3 separate regions of the Homo sapiens genome follow, and regions 1 and 3 are each linked to region 2. Evidence: promoter capture Hi-C in 16 types of primary human blood cells and fetal thymus (Javierre and others, 2016). All regions are on one chromosome and are shown on one strand. The core of a region is centred on a gene start or on the middle of the fragment in contact, and the rest is flanking DNA. Distances in the headings are between cores, read along the strand shown. Region 1 has its middle 14 kb from the start of MIR205HG. Region 2 holds the start of G0S2 (G0/G1 switch 2). Region 3 has its middle 24 kb from the start of LINC01698.

Region 1 (3,423 bases), core at 843-3,342, 260 kb before region 2:
CAGACGGAGCCCTGTGCAGATCCAGTTGCACAGAGCCACCCTTTCCACCCTGCCAGGCCTGGCCAACGATGGCATGACCTTTCAAAGAGGGACCTTTGCCCAGCACATGGTAAAGAAGGCTTAAAAAGAAAAGCTCCCTAGACTCACCTGAATCGCATTGCCAAACCTTTCCCAGGATGATTTCACAGGGTGAAATTTAGCAGCAGATTCAATGCTTCTAAAAATTATTTTTCAAGGGAAGTTGACCTGTTCTACTCCAACAGCATTCATACCTTCCTAACACTTTTTTTTTCTTTTTTTTTTTTTTTGAGACAGAGTTCCGCTCTTGTTGCCCAGGCTGGAGTGCAATGGCATGATCTCAGCTCACTGCAACCTCTGCCTTCCAGGTTCAAGCGATTCTCCAGCCTCAGCCTCCCAAGTAGCCAGGATTACAGGCAGCAGCTACCATGCCTGGCTAATTTTTGTGTTTTTAGTAGAGACGGGGTTTCACCATGTTGGCCAGGCTGGTCTCAAACTCCTGACCTGAAGTGATCCCCCCGCCTCAGCCTCCCAAAGTGCTGGGATTACAGGCATGAGCCACTGCGCCCGGCCTTCCTAACGCTTTTTAGATCTGTCTCAGTCCACATGGAGAGTCCATGTGGCAGCATCACCATAAGCAAAGTGCTTCTCCCTGAGTCCAGCACTGAGTTCCTCAAGGGAACATTTTTTTCCAAGGGCATAGATCCTCTGCAGGTACTTTCTTTAAAAAGGTTATTAACAAGGGAGGTAGAATAAAATAGCAGGGGCTGGGCTGAGCAAAGAGAAGGAAAACGGGTGGGGTGTTACAGTGTGCAACCAAACAGGGTGGGGCTGAGGCTGCCTGTCAAGTACATGAACCTACTTCAATCCCAGACATTTAGATGGCAAATCAAGCCCACATTTTGGGGCTAAAATTTATTTGTTCTTGGCTGAGGAATATTTCAGGTTTTCAAAAAGGACAGAAGAAATGAGAAATCAGAACCCTAAAGGTCTTATTCTTCAATGACACTCAAATTCTTCTATCAAGAGAAAAGCATCAGAAATGTACACATTTTCCCAAAACATCTCCACCCACAGCACAAACACACTTTTAGATTACCAGAAAGAGTTTTCCCAGAAATGGCCACTTAGAACATTAACTAATGAAAGAGAAAAATAGCAAGCTCATCTTCACAGTTGACTCAAGACCCATTTCATTCCAACTTCTGGCCAAATAGAAAAGTCAAACTAGGAAGGGTGTGCTAGCATTTTCTAAGTACAGAGACAAAACAGCAGCAAAACTATTCTTCTTTTCTTTTCCCCTTTCCTTCCAATTTCCTACAATAATCAAGTTCTGATGAGGGATCTTTAAGAACCACCAACTGGGCCACCAACCTTGAAGGAATCCAGACCCCGGGGACAAGCTTAGGCTAACACAAGAAACCAGCTGTTAGCCTCACAGGGGCATTTGAGATCTTGGGGTTAGCACTGTTAGTAAGCCCAGCTGAAGCTAAACTCTGGGTATTTTTACAGATTAGAATTGATATAAAAGTATCCTTGAGTTTTTATCACTTTACAGTTTACAAAGAGCTTCCATATATTTCAGTTCCTCCTCACCACCACACTGTGGGGTTTACCATGCTGTGTTACACATAGAAAAACTGAGGCCCGCAGAGGTGGAGAAACCCAAGAGAGCAATGTTAGAAACCTCCAGAGCTAGGACCAAAATATAGGTCTTTAAGTCCAAGCCAGCTGTCATATCCCAGGTGCTGAAGAGAGAATAGGGATCCGGCGAGATGAGGGAGGAGACATACGTTAGGAAGCACAAATGCCTAGAAGAGTCATGCTAATAAGGCACCTGTAGTGAGCATTTTCCTGCTGGAAACACAAATCCCCCTGTCACATGCTGTGTCACCAGCATTTACTAACATGCATTCTGCAGGGTCAGGTGATTTCCCCTCTTTTTCCCTCTCTGGCTAAGCCCAAGAACAATCCAACCTGTTTACCATGACTGGTTCCCCATCAGGGATACAACTAGTGCACCGAGGCAAGAAAGAGATGTGGTCCACACTTCCTACACCAACTGACCATGCCCACATTCTACGATGAAAGTCACGATGCTCCCGTGGTCTTCTTGTCACTTAGCTCTCTGGATCACAGAACTGTACAGACCAGTACTTCTCAAACTTGGATGAATTGCCTGGGGATCTTGTGAAAAGGCTGATTCTGATTCAGTGGGTCTTAGGTAGGGTCTGATATGATGCATCCCTAACAAGCTCCCAAATGCTTGCTGCTGGCTGAGGACCACACTTTGAGTAGCAAGAAGATGGAGACTGTCAAAGCTAGAGAGACCATAGAGATCATCTTTCTCAGTGCCTTTCACACTGTGTTTTCCTGGGAAGTTCTGATAAGGTATTTCAGGAGATCACTTGAAAGACAAGGAGGAAACCAAGGGTCCCCCTGTACCTTTACTTTAAGCAGAATTGCTGTTTTCTCTTTCTAGAAAATGGAATTCCTTATAAAATTTCATTTGATAAATGGGTTCCTTTATTTTTATAAGTTTGAAAGCTACCACTTTAATATAACAGCCTCATTTTACAGAAGAGGAGCTTAAGAATAAGAGAAGGCAGGTGAGTCACATGAGGTGACACAGCCAATTGGTGGCCAAGCCAAATCAGAATCCTGGGCTCTTTTCCCCACTCTACTCTTGCTCTCTGTGGGGGAAAATTTCAAATGTCATAATTCCGTGGTTTCTCCTCTTTCCCTTAAGCTTACCAAAGTAAACCCACCAGAATCCAGCAACACCTCAGTCCTCAGCAGGTGGATGCCCTGCCTCTCCCTACTGAGGGCTGGCTCTTCACAACTGCCCTGCCATCCCCACCTGACAAGTCAGGGCAGCCAGTGGAGGAGGGAATAAGCTTACTGAAGCAAGGCAAAAGTAAGACACGTTCCCAGAGGCAGGACTGGGGCCAGCTGTGGAATTATTCCACAGAGGGCAGGTGTGTGCTTGCAAGACCTCAGAATTCCTTGTCTCCAAGGAGGGGCCCAATTGACTCATCAGGGTACTTCCAGACAGTTTACTTCAAGCTGATTTGCAGCCGGCATGCTGGGGCAGCTGCAGGGCCCCAGCTGTACAGGAGGATTTGTCACCAGCAGGAGCAAAGCAGGAGCTGGGGGAAGTGTGTGGAGGCAGGGGAAAATCCCAGTGAAGGGGATATCTAGTACAAAGCCTGTGACCATGAAAGATCAGGCAGTCTGATTGTGAGGCCAGCAAGATTGGGCCAAGAGCAATTTAAGGAAAACAGAAGACATGGTCCCCTGACCCAAGGACTCTACAATCTGGATAGACTGTGAAAAGGTTACTAATATATGTGAAACAATTAGTGGACACTGCAAAACAGCATATAATTAAAAGCTAAACTGAGG
Region 2 (3,352 bases), core at 673-3,172:
TCACCTTCAGAATGGAAACCACGTGACAGCCCTTATATCAGGGCACACATCACATGCTCTTCCAGAAGTCAATGGGTTTGGAACCCTCACAGATATTGGGAAAGCTCACTAATCATTTCTGCCAGTTATCAGAGGTTGCTCTGAAACTATAAGGAAGATTCAAAGAAAATGCCAAGACTGATATTAAACTTGGCAGGAACCCTTGTTACAGAATTTTCCTGCCTGACAAGGTTAAAAGAACAATAAGCAGGAAACACAGTCCTCCAGGAATAATCAATTCTATTTGGCCCCTGGTCACCTTCACTCAGACTAAATTCTAAAACATAGAATTTCAAATAAGCTATTTAGATAACCTTGACCATTCTCCACACACAAGCCCTTGCCTGAACTATTAATAGTCAAGGCAAAGGGTAGTTGTTATTGCTGCCTTTTTAAACTGAATCATCTGAGAAATTGCTTCAGACCCCCAAAGAAAGATTACTGTTAACAATTCAAAAACTAAAATATTTGATCCCTGAGACAGCCTTTTCCCCCGACCCGCCCTTCAGGGCTCAGTCCGACCGACTGCAAAGGCTGTTGCAAGATTGCATCACTGACCTTTGCAATTTTCTGGCCAGTTTGATTTCCCCTTCTTTCCCCTGCCCCCTCCCTTTCTCTGCTTAAAGGCCTTTGGCCAATTTGCCTCTCCTTTTCCCCAAGTTTGCTAACCCTTTGGCCAATTTGCCTCTCTTTTTCCCCAAGTTTGCTAACTCTAGCATATCCATAACCAAAGCCAAACTAGAACGCTCCCTCAGCCCCAGGTGATTACAGCTAACCCTGGTCAAAATCAATCCTACATCTTCACACGTCCAAGAGTACTCACACTCTGGATTCTTACCTAAGCTGTCTACTACACGCCCTTCTGCCCACAAACTGCTTCAAAGCTGAAGTTGAGCTGGAGCAGTGAAGTTGTACCCCCAAACCCAGGAGGGTGGCAGAGAATTATTGAGGAGAGCATGAAATACTTCCATTCTAAAATGGCAGATGAACTTCTACCAACAGCCCCTTCCATACTTGACCCCCTACCCCCAAGCTCCCAACTCCACTTCTCAAGTGGAAGTGAGAACAATTTGAATTTGAAGGCTCTTCCCTGATACACGGAAGTACATAAGGAAACAGCTCGCAGGCAAAGAGACTAATCTCTCTCTCTTTCTCTCTCTCTCTCTCTCTCTCTCTCTCTCTCACACACACACACACACACACACACACACCTCTGTGCATAAAAGCACCATCAATGAATAGTTTTCTATCAACTGACTCTAGTTATACATGCATGTACCTCTAAATAAAACCAACCAGGCAGGAAAGAAACAATATTAGCACATATTGCTTTATCCAAGCGTAACCTGTTCTGTCCTGTTACCCAGATCCTTCCCCCTTGCCTTCTCCTCTCTGATCCATTGCCACACACGTGGGAAGGTGACAACCCTTCCGAATAAAAATGAAAGCTTTCTTCTTTAGATGGAACCCCCAAATTCCCTCATTATTTATAATGTCAGGCTGTCCTGGACAAGGGAAGCTGTGCACCCGCTGACACCAGTAAGAAGGTTGCCGCCATGTCAGAGATGTCCGCGGACACCTCCCTGGGCTCCGGGTCCTCCCCTGCGCTCGCCTGGAGTGGGACCTTCGCGTGCACACTGGCCTTCCCACGCGCCCCGCTGCGATGGCACCCGCGCCGGGCCCCCTAGCTCACACAGTCGGAGCGTGCTCAGCGCGTGGCCACCTCCTGCCAGGTCCCAGCCGGGTTCCACCCCCTCCTTTTCCCCTCCTCTTCTTCCTCCCCCTCCGAGTTCCCCTGGCTCTGACCGCGCTGGCCTGGGCCGGAGAGCCCAGGAGGCGTGTCTCAGAGAAAAGATATAAGCGGCCCCCGGACGCTAAAGCGGTGCCAGCGGCGGAGTCTCCAACTGGGAGAGCTGCAGCTGCCGAGAGGAGGAGAACGCTGAGGTCGGTCGGACCAACGGACGCGCTGACCGCTGCCAACTGCAGCTCGCGCTGCCTCCTGCTCGCGCCGTGCCACTAAGGTAGTCCGCCTTTCTATGAGCCCTCCCCAAGATTAGCTGGGTGCGGGGTGGTGGGAGCCGTTCTTTGGTGGCTGAAGCCCCTCTCCTGCTGCTCCTCCTGCAGGTCATTCCCGCCTCCGAGAGCCCAGAGCCGAGATGGAAACGGTCCAGGAGCTGATCCCCCTGGCCAAGGAGATGATGGCCCAGAAGCGCAAGGGGAAGATGGTGAAGCTGTACGTGCTGGGCAGCGTGCTGGCCCTCTTCGGCGTGGTGCTCGGCCTGATGGAGACTGTGTGCAGCCCCTTCACGGCCGCCAGACGTCTGCGGGACCAGGAGGCAGCCGTGGCGGAGCTGCAGGCCGCCCTGGAGCGACAGGCTCTCCAGAAGCAAGCCCTGCAGGAGAAAGGCAAGCAGCAGGACACGGTCCTCGGCGGCCGGGCCCTGTCCAACCGGCAGCACGCCTCCTAGGAACTGTGGGAGACCAGCGGAGTGGGAGGGAGACGCAGTAGACAGAGACAGACCGAGAGAGGAATGGAGAGACAGAGGGGGCGCGCGCACAGGAGCCTGACTCCGCTGGGAGAGTGCAGGAGCACGTGCTGTTTTTTATTTGGACTTAACTTCAGAGAAACCGCTGACATCTAGAACTGACCTACCACAAGCATCCACCAAAGGAGTTTGGGATTGAGTTTTGCTGCTGTGCAGCACTGCATTGTCATGACATTTCCAACACTGTGTGAATTATCTAAATGCGTCTACCATTTTGCACTAGGGAGGAAGGATAAATGCTTTTTATGTTATTATTATTAATTATTACAATGACCACCATTTTGCATTTTGAAATAAAAAAACTTTTTATACCATATCTCATGTAATTCCTGAGAGGTGTGGTGTCCTGGGGTGGGAAGCAGGGAGGGTGAGCAGGTGGGCGATGGTGATGGGTTCTTACCTGAGCACTGCAGAGGGAGCAGCTTCCTGAGGGTCAGACACTTGCTTCACACCTAGGAACTGTGTAATAAGTTACTACATGCATATAAGTCTGTTGAGGACTTGTTTTTCCTTCTTGTTAGGGGTGGGAAGAGAGAAAATTTTATAACTTCCGTGAGATTTAGCATTTTAACATCAAAAGGTAGATCAACTTCTGAGCTACAGTGAGTAGGAGATAACTGATTAATTCTAAGGCAGAAAAGCTCTTTGTTCCTTACACCTGTGCACCAGAGGTTCCCATGGCTGATACCTTTTTCTTCCCAACTATATTTTAGACAGACAGACAGAGAGAAGGAAAGAAAATGAAGGAGGGAGGTCTGGAGGTGAAG
Region 3 (3,234 bases), core at 656-3,155, 280 kb before region 2:
TGGGTTGAAAAATAGGAACAGCTCTACAGGAAACCTGAGCCAGGTGAAAAATATGTCTCATCTTCTCATGTGGGATCCAGTATAGTTAATACTGGAAGAAAAACTTGAACCACTGTTCTTTCCAGAAACAGAAAATACAGACAATTCTTTTGATTTTACTTCTTTCATTTCATGATGAACTCGTACTGAGTAGCCAGGATACCACAGGTACTCAGATTCTAGTATTAATAGCATTAGCATTTTTCTTCCATTTTAGTACCCAGAGTCCAAATCTAAATGTCTTCTTTAGGGCTGAAAGTGGTCATATTCAAATTAAAGGTCACCCAAATAACTTCTTTTGTGGGTTAAAATCTCTGACATGAGGACTCTAGGAAGAAGAACAGTTTTTTAAAAGGTGGACATGTACAATCTGGTCCTTCTATTGAAAGCCTTAAGGGGTCTGTGAAGATGATGAACAAATGGGAAGTGTTCCAGTTTTATCCTATAATTCGGACTTGTTTCTGGAGGGAAAAAAAAAAAAAAGTAAAATCCGGAGGAGATGCATCCAAGCTCTCCATAAACAGAGCTTTGAAGAGCAAATTGAGCGGCTTTCATCAATCACACACAGACCACAGCAAACACAGCCCGAGGAGAATCACTCACCCAGTGTCAGGCAGGGTCAGGCAAACGTTATCAAACGCTCTTTCAAGCTATTATGAACCAGAATCAGAGGGAGAGAAGGAAGTAGAGGAGTGCCAAAAATAAGATCCCGAGGGGAAGGGAGGCAAATAAGGCAAGAAAGAGATGCAGTGGCAAAGAGGATGTGGAGGGAAGAGAAAGAGAGGAAGAAAGAGTGAGGAAAAGACACAGGAAAATATATAAGTAGGTAGCAAGACACAGAGAGCAGAAGGGAAGCAGAGAGAATGGCGCAGCAAAACAGAACAAAAGTAAATCAACAGCAGCAAAAGGAAAGCTGGAAAACAAGGTGGAGAGAAATAATCTTTCCCCATGGGTGGGGTGGAGGCCACACTGGCAGCCATCTGTCCTGAGGATATGTCATCTACGTGACCTTTCATTGAAAATTAGCCAAAATAGTTCAAGTTTCTGTGTATAGAGGAATATCATCATGTCTCAGTGAAAGGAAAGAAAAAGCAAACACTTCAATCATCTTCCTCTCCAGCTCCCCAAACTTATTCACTAGGAGGGACTATTTGATCATTCTGGATGGTTTCACTCAGGACCTGAAAATGAGAACAGCCATTAGAAACCAGCTCGATGCCCACCCAATCCCCCACAGGAGTGATTTTACCTTTTATTACAACAAAGCTCAGGCAGTCATATACCCACTCAAGTTGTAAATCTGCCTTCTTCACAGATCAAGTTCGATTTTCCAACTAATTAGAGAAAAACAAACCCACTCCTGGGTCAAAACCAAGCAAACATCCCCATCTCTGTATAGGACCTGGCTCTGTCTTAATTAAGAGGTAAGGGCCTGGGTGCCTGGGTGTTCCTTGGGGAACTTTGAGGGGCCAGGGGTCAGCAGGAGGGCAACCAGTGCAAGAAGAGAGCCAGTGCACCAAGGAAAATAAATGAGGAATGGGAGATAGAGGAGCCTTCTCCAAAACAAACTTTGCTAATTTACACGCTTACTCCATAAGAAGATATTGCAAATGGCAATGCATGAAGAGACAGAGTCCTCAAGACAGCCTAACTATTGGTACACCCTGAATATCAGTTACAATTAGGCGAGGTACTAGGAGCCAGTTGATAGTGGCTCCCAATTCTTAACTGAAGAGTTCAGATAGGAGCTGAGAGAATAACAATAGCTAGAATTTATTGAGCCAATCATTTTTACATGCACCATTTTATTTAACCCTCACAATAACCCTATCTAATAGACATTCTTCTAATTATTATTCCCATTTTACTGATGAAGAAACTGAGGCTCAAAGAGGTTACATAACTGGCCCAAAGTCATACAGTGAGCAAGTACAGAAGTGGAAATCTGAGCTTGCAACTGACTCCAGAGCTGGTCTCAGCCACTCTGTGGCCTGCATTGCTCCAGTAGCAGATGGGTCTGATAGAAGAGCATGTTGGCCCTGTGTACTTGTGAACAGCATGCAGGATGGAGAGAAAGGGGACAGTCCTGGAAGCAGGGACTCAGAAGCAGCCTCAATCCAGTTGGGAAGGAATCAGGGTTTTGAATAGGATGGTAACAGTCCATGTCGCAAAGATGAGGCCAATTTACCATATGAAACAATTTTGAGCTTTTGGATAAATGGCACAGTCACTGGCTGAGACAGGAGGTAGCATTACTGTGGGCAGCAACAAGTTTAGGGAGCTCTCTAAACTTTCCTATTTCTCTTTATGAAAGCAAAAGACCAGAAAATTATCTATAATTACTGAGCCATCAGCACTTAATTACAGCATCTCTTGCATGGGCCAACATGGCAAATGACTTCACACCACTAATGAGTGTCCTGAGCTCCTCTTCCCACTCCCAGTTTGACCTGGAATACACTGGCACGAACAGCCCTTCCAGTCCACTCTATACAGCAGAGGTATCAGAGTACAGGCTGTGTGGCCAGACAGACCTGTGTTCAGATCCTGTCCCCACCACTCACTAACTGAGGAACTTTAGACACTATTCAACTTCTCTGAGCCACAGTTTCCTCATCTGTAAAATGGGGGCTGTAAAATACATCAGTCCTGGGGAATGTCAGGATAAAATAAAAAGATAAATGCATAACATCTAGGACAATGCCTAACATATAATAAGCACTCTTTTAAAAAGCTATTATTATTGTATATTTCCACCCCTTCATCTGACTCATTTGAAGCTGAAAGAGGAAGAGGCAAACCGAGTGAAATTGCTTACATAAAAGCCAGATAGAGCCTGGCTATTCCACCGAAGGCAATAATTATAAAGCTGCTTCAGAGCACAGAGAGTTCCAAGAATGGAATACGCATTTGAAACAAGTTCATTAAAAAATTGCTTACTCATAAAAGCTACTATCGTTATAGCCTGACAAATGGAAGACACGACACTAATAAATAAGGAGCCGGTGGTAAACAAGCTGACTACACCAAGAATCCCTTGATTTCTCTCTTCCCCATCCTTCAACTGTTTCTTAATCTTTTATGGGCTTATAATGACAAGTTCAGGTGGGTTTTATGTGCCTGTTTACTCTGAGTTTTCTCCAAACTCCAAATGGAAGGGAAGAAGCCTCCAGGCTTCTCTACTTAGTCTCCCAG

Evidence for each region. Contacts are between HindIII fragments. The CHiCAGO score rates a contact against its expected background, and 5 or more counts as called.
Region 1: a contact is called between a fragment that was not itself captured here and the fragment with the promoter of G0S2 in region 2, in 1 of 17 cell types (monocytes). The highest score is 8.2, in monocytes.
Region 3: a contact is called between a fragment that was not itself captured here and the fragment with the promoter of G0S2 in region 2, in 1 of 17 cell types (monocytes). The highest score is 7.0, in monocytes.

The regions. Positions count from the first base shown.
Region 1 is chr1:209,413,203-209,416,625 of GRCh38, forward strand. No RefSeq gene overlaps it. Among named protein-coding and RNA genes, the nearest start is that of MIR205HG, 14 kb to the right of the region's middle. The HindIII fragment of the contact is 1,346 bases long and covers 1,420-2,765 here.
Region 2 is chr1:209,673,490-209,676,841 of GRCh38, forward strand. It overlaps G0S2 (G0/G1 switch 2), which reads left to right and starts at 1,923. Exons shown (of 2, transcript NM_015714.4): 1 at 1,923-2,060; 2 at 2,164-2,901. The coding sequence starts at 2,196. The coding sequence ends at 2,507. The region is part of intron 1 of HSD11B1-AS1 (HSD11B1 antisense RNA 1); the gene reads right to left. RefSeq lists an enhancer at 2,035-2,883. The HindIII fragment of the contact is 4,554 bases long and covers 1,486-3,352 here.
Region 3 is chr1:209,394,716-209,397,949 of GRCh38, forward strand. No RefSeq gene overlaps it. Among named protein-coding and RNA genes, the nearest start is that of LINC01698, 24 kb to the left of the region's middle. RefSeq lists an enhancer at 1,976-2,858. The HindIII fragment of the contact is 5,635 bases long and covers 1-3,234 here.